Regions from separate parts of the Homo sapiens genome. Here all the other regions are linked to region 2. The links are contacts of gene promoters, found by promoter capture Hi-C in human tissues and cell types (Jung and others, 2019). All regions are on one chromosome and are shown on one strand. Each heading gives the region's core, a stretch centred on a gene start or on the middle of the fragment in contact. The rest is flanking DNA. Distances are from core to core; before and after follow the strand shown.

Region 1 (2,772 bases), core at 207-2,706, 180 kb after region 2:
TATGATGACAATACCACAAATAATAGGGATGGGAATAGAGTTATATCGGAGCAAAATTTTTGTATATAATTGAAATTAAGTTGGTATCAATCTGAGCTAGATTGTTTTAAATTAAGATGTTAACTGAAATTAAATGTTAATTGAAAAGCCATCACTAAGAAAATACAGTAAAAAGAAACAACAAAGAAATAAAACTGTACGTAAAAATATTTAACAGAAAAGAAAGCAATAATGGAGAGCAAAATGATGAGACAGAAAATAAACAGCAAAATGACAGGCACAAATCCTACTATGTCAGTAATTAAATGTAAATGAATTCAACATTCTAATAGAAAAAGGCAGAGATTGGCAAAATGGATTAAAACACAAAACACAAATAGAAACAACAATCATTCTCCAGTTATATGAGGAGACATGCTTTACATTCAGGGAAACAAATAGGTTGAAAGAAAGGGGATGGAAATAAATATACCATGCAAACAGTACCTAAAAGACAGCTGAAGTGGCTATATAAACAGCAGACAAAATAGACTTTAATGCAAGAGAAAAAGATATTTTATAATAAAAGGGTAAATCTATCAGGAAGACATAACAATTATAAACATATATACATGTGACAACGGAGCTCCAAAATAAATGAAGCAAACACTAACTTAAAAGGAGAAATAAATAGTTCAACAATAAATGAACAGTTCAACAATAAATGTTGGAGACTTTAATATCCCAATTTTTATAATGAATAAAACTAGGCAGAAGATCAACAAAAAATAGAAGACTTAAACAACACTATGAACCAACTAGACCTGGAAGACATCTGTATAATACTGCACCCAACAACTGCACAATAAATATTCTTCAAGTACACATGAAACATTCTCTAGGATAGACCATACTTAGGCCCTAAAACAAGTCTCAATAAGCTTAAAAGGACTGAAATCATACAAAGTATGTCTTCCAACCACAAGAAAATGAAATTAGAAATCAATAAAAGAAGAAAATGTGAGAAATTCACAAATAAGTGCTAATTAAACATACCCCTAAATAACCTATGGAATTAAAAAGAAATCACAGAGGAAATTAGAAAATATGTAGAGATTAATGAAAATGAAAATACACCACACCAAAATTTATGGGATGCAGCTAAGGCAGTGTTGAAAAGGAAATGTACAGCTGTAAACACCTATATTTAAAAAGAAAGATTTCAATTCAATAATCGAAACTTCCACCATTAGAAATGAAAAAGGAAATGCAAACTTAATCTAAAGCAAGCAGAAAGTAGAAAATAATAGCGGTTAGGGTGGAAATAAACGGAAGACTCAAAAAACAGAGAAAGTGACAAAATCAAAAGTTGGTTATTTGAAAATACTAACAATATTGACAAATCTTTAGGTAAACTAACCAAGAAAATAATGAGAGAAGATTCAAACTACTAAAATCAGTAATGGTGAAGGGGACATTGCTATGGGCCTTAAGGAATCAAGGATTATAAACATTCTAGTAGCAATGATCACACCTAGCATGCAAGGAACCAAGACTCCTTGGAGAAATGACTGATTGAAGGGCTGGTACAGGAAATATACATGATGTGCCTTGGGTATTTTATAATACCAGAAAGTAAAGAAGTGCCCCAAAACAAAACAAAGCCCATAATCATGTGGGTATGTCAAAGGGAAATAGAAACCAACAGAAAAAGCTCCCAGTGACTGAAGTTGGAACAATTTGAGCAAGTAGTATTAGATTATAATTCAAAGTACAAATAAAATCCATGACTCCACAATGATGTAAATGACTGAGTACATAGATGAGGGAGAGTAGACAGGTCTACCATACAGAAGAATACCAAATAATTTATTACCAAATAGATACACCACCCTCAAGGATGTAGAGCATAACTTCCCACCTCTTATGTGTAAGGCACACGGAATGTGTTCATTCCAAAACCTACAGTATAAAAAGGGGGAAGAAAGAGTAACTCTACAGGGGAGAAACCGGGCAAACACTCTCAGCCAGGTAACCAAGATCAACATCCACAATAATAAGTAATGTTGATAGCATGTATCTTGATATGATGTGATCAAGATACCACTTTACCACTGTCTTCTTCTTCCCCCAAACCCATAATCCCAGTATAATAATGAGAAACATAACAGACAAATCTCAATTGAGGGACATTCTACAAAATGTCTGAAGAGTACTCCTCAAAACTATCAAGGTCACCAAAAACAAGAGAAGTCTGAGAAATTATCACAGCTAAAAGGAGCCTAAGGAGATGTATTAGTCCGTTCTCATGCTGCTATAAGGACATACCTGAGACTGGGTAATTTATAAAAGGAAAGAGGTTTTACTGACTCACAGTTCTGCAGGGCTGGGAGGCCTCAGGAAACTTACAATCATGGTGGAAGGGGAAGCAAACACATCCTTCTTCACATGGTGGCAGCAAGGAGAAGTGCAGAGTGAAGCGGCGGGGAGCCCCTTACAAAACCATCAAACTCATGAGAATTCACTCACTATCACAAGAACAGCATGGAGGTAACTGCTCCTATGATTCAATTACCTCCCACCAGATCCCTCTCATGACACATGGGGATTATAGGAACTACAATTCAAGATGAGATTTGGGTGGGGACACAGCCACACCATATCATTCCACCCTGGCCCCTCCAAAATCTCATGTCCTCACATTTCTAAACACAATCATACCCTTCCAACAGTCCCCCAAAGTCTTAACTCATTCCAGCATTAACTCAAAAGTCCAAGGCCAAAGTCTCATGT
Region 2 (2,759 bases), core at 4-2,503:
ACGCATACACACACACATATATACGCGCACGCACATGCACACATATACATGTCCACACACATGCACACACACGTACATATGCACACATACACATGTACACATCCACACGCGCCCACACACACACACACACACAGACGTGTCTCACACCACAGCAGCCGCCTCGGGGGAGTCACAGCCCACGCATCCCCAACACTGCGGTCGCGCTCACTTCTCTTTCCACGCCCGGGGGGAGCAGCTTCCCCGCTGGGCCACGCTGACTCTGGGGAGGCGGGCGGGGCGAGACCACTTCTGGGGAGGACGCCCAATCTGGGGACTTTCTCTAGGTGCCCGGGGAGAAGGCGGCGCAGCAGCAAAGCCCTGGAGGGCCCAGTGGCGGAAACAGACGGACCCCTCGCAGCCTCCCGCCGACAGCGGCCCTGCCCAGGTCTCCAGGCTTCGATGCCTTCGTTGCTTTGTGCGGCGCACCCGCCTACGTCAGTTCCCAGTATTTAAACAAAACGTGTTCCTAGCTACGCAGCGCCAGGCAACCAGGCGGTTCCCACGCTTCCCCGAGTGGCACACCCTCCGCGCAGCCCACGCGGCCTCCCCACGCCCAGCTCCCGCCGGCCCCGCCTCGCGTCGTCCTTCGCCCCGCCCCCGTTGCCGCCCCCCCCGCCCGCACACTGCCCACCTGGCGTTGTCTTCACCCCGCTTACACGCCGCTCGCTTCGCTCTGGTAGTCGCCCACCTCGCGCTGCCCTTCTCGCTTCAGTCTTCGCCCTGCCCACCCACCGCCCACCTCGCGCCAGTCTTCGCCCCGCCCATTCACCGCCCGCCTCGCGTCAGTCTTCGCCCCGCCCAACCACCGCCCGCTTCGCGTCGGTCTTCACCCCGCCCACTCGCCGTTCGCCTCGCGCCTTCGCCCCTCCGCCGTTGTCGCCCCGCCCCTTCTTGCGTCCAGTCTTTGCCCCGTCCCTCGCCGTCGCCCCGTCCACACGCCGTCAGCTTCGCGTCTGTCCTCGCCCCGCCCACCTACCGCCCCCCTCGGGCCTTCGCCCCTCCGCCGTCGTTGCCCCGCCCGCCTTGCACCCCGTCTTCGTCCCGCCCCGCGCCGTGGCCCCGCCCACACGCCGTCAGCTTCGCGTCTGTCCTCGCCCCGCCCTGCATCATCGCCCCGCCCTGCATCATCGCCCCGCCCACACGCCGCCTGCCAGGCGTGAGTCTTCCTCCCGCTCTGCGCCGTCGCCCCGCCCACACGCCGCCACCCTCGCGTCAGTTGTCGCTCCGCGCCTGCGCCCGTTGTCTCCCTGCTCGCTCCGGGTCCCGGCGCCGCGCCATGTGGGCTGCGGCGGGCGGGCTGTGGCGCTCCCGCGCGGGTCTCCGGGCCCTGTTCCGTAGCCGCGATGCTGCGCTATTTCCAGGCTGCGAGCGGGGACTTCACTGCTCTGCTGTCTCCTGCAAGAACTGGCTCAAGAAATTTGCCTCGAAAACCAAGTAATGCGGCGGGGGCGGTGTCCCTGGGCGCGGTATTCCCTAGGGGGCGGTGTCCCCGGGTTGCGGTGTCCGCTCATCCGCGTTCTTGCGCCCATGCGGCCTAGCTCGCCAGTTCCTGCCTCCTGGGGTCTGCAGCAGTTCTAGCTCTCACTGTCAGCATTTGCAGCTTTTGTGTTCGTGGACGTGTGTCGGGTTAAGAAAACAAAGTGACAATGTGTGTTTATTTTGATTCTTGTCACCAGACGTATTTTTCAGAAGATTAGTTTCAGAAAATGAGGAAAAATGAAAAAATATAAGAATTTCCTTGCTAATGTTGACTTTCTGTGTGAATTTGAAGACTAAAGCTTGTCATGATAATTAGTGTTTTTAAATTATGAAAGATAAGTACAATAAAATACATTGACTTTTCACACTGCTTTTAGTTCTTCTAAGTATGGTAGGTGGTTGTATGTTTTCTACTTTAATACACTACTTTTAAAGACAGTTTTAGACCCTGCAGAAAAATTGCAAAAATAGTACCGCGTTCCTGTGTCCTGGCACCCAGCTCCCCCTGTGTTAGCGTCGGACTTTAGCTTCCAACGTGTTCCAGTTAATGAGCCGATATTGATAAGAGTGTTGCTAACTGAAGCTCATACTTTATTCACTTTTCCTTGGTTCTGCCTGCTGTCCCTTCCTGTCCCAGGTGCCCACCCAAGGTCCACGTTACATTGAATTGTCTTGTTTCCTTAGGCTGGGGTAGTGTCCCAGACTGTCCCTGGTTTTGATGGCTGTGCCAGTTTTGAGGGGTACTGGTCAGGTGCTTTGCAGGATGCCTCTCTGTTGGAATGTGCCTGTTTTTTTAATGCTTAGACGTGGATTATGGCTTTTGGGGAGGAAGACTACAGAGGTAAAGGCCATTCTCATCGCACCGTATCCAGGGTCCACGCTGGCCGTGATCCCCTGCATGAGGTGCTTGCCAGGTTTCTCTACCGTAAAGTTACTCTTTTTGCCCCCTTTCCTTACTGTACTCTGGGAGAAAGTCGCTGTGTGCAGCCCATGCCTAATGAGTGGGGAATTTTGCTCATAAGTGGTTTGCATTCTGCACAAGGGATATGTCTCTTCACCCCATGTATTAATTCATTCATATCACCAAGAACTCATGGGTTATAATCCCGTGTTACTTAGTTTTGTTCGAATGTTTCCAGCTCAGGCCCTTAGGAGCTCACTAAGCTCCTATGTCCTGTTTGCATACCCTGTCATTGTGGGGTTTTGCTGGGTTCTGTGTGTGTTAAACACTTTCCTACTTT
Region 3 (2,700 bases), core at 67-2,566, 130 kb before region 2:
GTGGACAGGACAGGATGCGGCAGGCCCCAGTACCCCCCACTCAGGAATTTGCTTCAGGCCAAAAGCCCAGGGCAGCAGGGTAAGGCGCCATCGGCCAGGACCTGCACGGCAGGGGCAGCCCCCTCCACTCCCTGGACCCGAGACCGTCTCTCCTGGAAGATGGACATCAAAACTGCATCCGGAGGTGCAGTCTGCACCCAGAAGGAAGGGGATCTCCGCCAGCAGAGCCCAAGAGTGGCGTGCAGACTGCATGTGCACAGCCTCAGCCCGGCCCCCTCAGCCATTGCCCATGAGGGCCTCCACGTTGTCTGATGGTCGCTGGCATCTGCCACGTCCCCAAGGACTCGAGGAGAACCAGAGGCTGACAAGAGCAGCATGAGCTAGCCCTGGCGATGCTCAGCCGGGCTGGACACAGCGGATCCACAAGGCGTTCAGGCCTCGCAGCCACTCCAAAGGCCCAGGAAACACCGACTGTCAGAAAACCCGGAGCACGGTGACCCTGCGTCCGCACAGCCGCCTTTCCGTGTGTACCAGGCAGAGAAAGCCCCAGCCCTCCCCCGTGCCAGACCCCTGGGTAGCAGAGGCCACCCCAGTCCAAGCAGGGTGTCTGGCCAGGGTGTCACGGGGTCGAGGGCTCCGCTCACAGGCCTTACAGGGTCTCCTGCGGTCACCCCAGCTTCAAGGTTCGCGGCTGCTGGCCCGTGTGTCCACCTGGAGCAGGTTCCTGCAGGCCGCCCAATGTGTACCTTGGGCTCAGACGGTGTTTCATAAGAGGAAATGGGGAAAACACTTGCTTTTTATGTCATCCTAAAAACATCCAAAACCCTCGGGGCCAGATCAACCCTGGCTGTCCCCGCTGAGCACAAACAGCGTCCCAGCCCCACCCCCACTGCCCACCCTGAGACACCCCACAGAGGCTGATGGAGACCCCAATGCCCATGCCCCATCTCTGCCACACCTGCAGGGGCCACAGCACCCACCCTCCCCGCGGGGAGGTCAGGGCCCACCAGTGCCCGCGGCTGGCGGTCCCACATCCTCGTCCTCCCCACTGTCAGAGGGCCTTGGTGCCAGTGGGGTGCACGGCGTGGGGCGCCGGCTTCTGGGGGTGGCGGGCGAAGGCGTAGGCCTGCCCCAGGATGGCCAGGTCCACCAGCACCTGCAGCAGGCCGCACACGGAGAACTGCAGAGGGGCACCCTTCAGCAGGAAGTAGGCCGTCTTGAAGGCGTCACCACTGGTCCACATGAGCACCATCTTGATGCTGTGGAGACACAAGCAGGCGGTCAGCGGTGGGGAGGGCGGCGACCTGGGCTCAGTCAGTGGGGAGGCCTGGGGCTTAGACAGCGGGGAGACCTGGGGCTCAGGGGCACCCAGGGGGCTAAGGGGACCCCCAGGCAGTCGGCGGGGAGGCCTGGGGCTCAGGGGGCACCCAGGGGGTTGAGGGGACACCCAGTCTACAGGGTGACCCAGGGGTCAGGGACACCCCAGGGGGCCAAAGGACACACCCTGACCCCACCTGTCCCATGCAACCCCCACCCTTGACTTCTCTGTGGCCGCAAGAGCTGCCGCCTGGCTGGGGCTCTGCAAGCCCAAGAACAGTGAGACCAGCTCGAGGCTACAGGGGACAGCAGGGCGAGCAGCTGACGTCAGGGCCCCTGGTGCGCGGTGGCAATTCTGGGAGGGGCCGGGCCTGGGAGGGTGCTGAGGACGCAGATCTGTGCCCCCAGGCACACAGCCAAGTGGAGCAGAGCAGCTGCTTTTGGGTCTCTGCCGGCCTCCCTCCCTGGTGATAGATGCAAACCTTCCTTTCCTGGAGTGAACAGGGAGCAGCCGCCACCCACCATCCCAGTCCGAACACGCTTCCCCCACCGCTGTGTTCATGCCCTGGCTTGCCTAGCAGTGAACATGAGTGCTGCTGCACTTTCCCGTGTGAAATGTTTAAATCAGCGGCCGCTGACCCTTCCACAGCTCCTGAAGCCAGAGGCAGAGCCTGGGTGGGGAGCGCTGCCTGGACAGAAAGGACAGGACACAGCCCTCCCCCACCCTGGGGCGTCCGTCCCGCTCATAAGCCAGGGTGGGCACCTGGGTGCCGTAGCCGCCCTGTGTGAGAGTCTTCAGGCACAGCCATGGCCGGGTGTGTTCAGGGCTGGAGCTAGGAACCCGCAGGAGACAGCCGGCATCTGCACCCCCTCCTCTCTCCCAAGCCCACAGTGCTCGGCTCTAGAGCATCTTGTTGGCCTCTGAGAACATAAATCCGGCTTTATCATTACACCCACTGGGAAAAACCAGGAGGCTTTGGGACTGTTTCCACTTGGGTCGGTTTAGCTAAATTATAAGGCCCTGACCCACAGAGGGCATTTTCCTCCCATTTTTTATTCTCTGGGATGTGTCCTCCCCTGGATGCAGCTCCAGCTCCACAAAATCCAGTCTCTTCCACAGACAAAAAGACAGGGTGGTGCCTGGGTAGCACCGGGGGAAGGTGGTGCAGGCCCCTCGGCCTCTCACACACCCCAGCAGTCAGCCCAGGCTTCGGAATTCCCCCCTGCCTGCTTTAGGCCCAGGCAGGGCTGCACAGCTGACTTGGGGTGGGGCTCCGGGCCTGGGACCACAGCCCCGGTGCAAAGGCGCCTGCCTTTCCTGCGCTAGCCATGCACACAGCAGGCGCCCGAGCATTGCGCGGTGACCCCGCCACCGGTCACCTT

Evidence for each region. The method cuts DNA at HindIII sites, captures the fragments that hold promoters and counts their contacts. A contact is called where the count stands out against the background at its distance.
Region 1: a contact is called between a fragment that was not itself captured here and the fragment with the promoter of RBFA in region 2, in 1 of the 25 tissues and cell types used here (lymphoblastoid cells).
Region 3: a fragment that was not itself captured here is called in contact with the fragment with the promoter of RBFA in region 2 in 1 of the 25 tissues and cell types used here (dorsolateral prefrontal cortex).

What each region holds. Positions count from the first base shown.
Region 1 is chr18:80,215,472-80,218,243 of GRCh38, forward strand. All of the region lies in intron 1 of PARD6G (par-6 family cell polarity regulator gamma), which reads right to left. Among named protein-coding and RNA genes, the nearest start is that of PARD6G, 31 kb to the right of the region's middle. The HindIII fragment of the contact is 7,075 bases long and covers 1-2,772 here.
Region 2 is chr18:80,033,181-80,035,939 of GRCh38, forward strand. It overlaps RBFA (ribosome binding factor A), which reads left to right and starts at 1,254. Exons shown (of 7, transcript NM_024805.3): 1 at 1,254-1,473. The coding sequence starts at 1,316. It also overlaps a transcript of TXNL4A not described here. RefSeq lists silencers at 540-709, 741-897, 780-1,099, 1,110-1,189, 1,300-1,449. The HindIII fragment of the contact is 12,317 bases long and covers 1-2,759 here.
Region 3 is chr18:79,902,925-79,905,624 of GRCh38, forward strand. It overlaps SLC66A2 (solute carrier family 66 member 2), which reads right to left. Exons shown (of 6, transcript NM_025078.5): 6 at 1-1,259. The coding sequence ends at 1,052. Among named protein-coding and RNA genes, the nearest start is that of SLC66A2, 47 kb to the right of the region's middle. RefSeq lists an enhancer at 1,243-1,878. The HindIII fragment of the contact is 4,811 bases long and covers 1-2,700 here.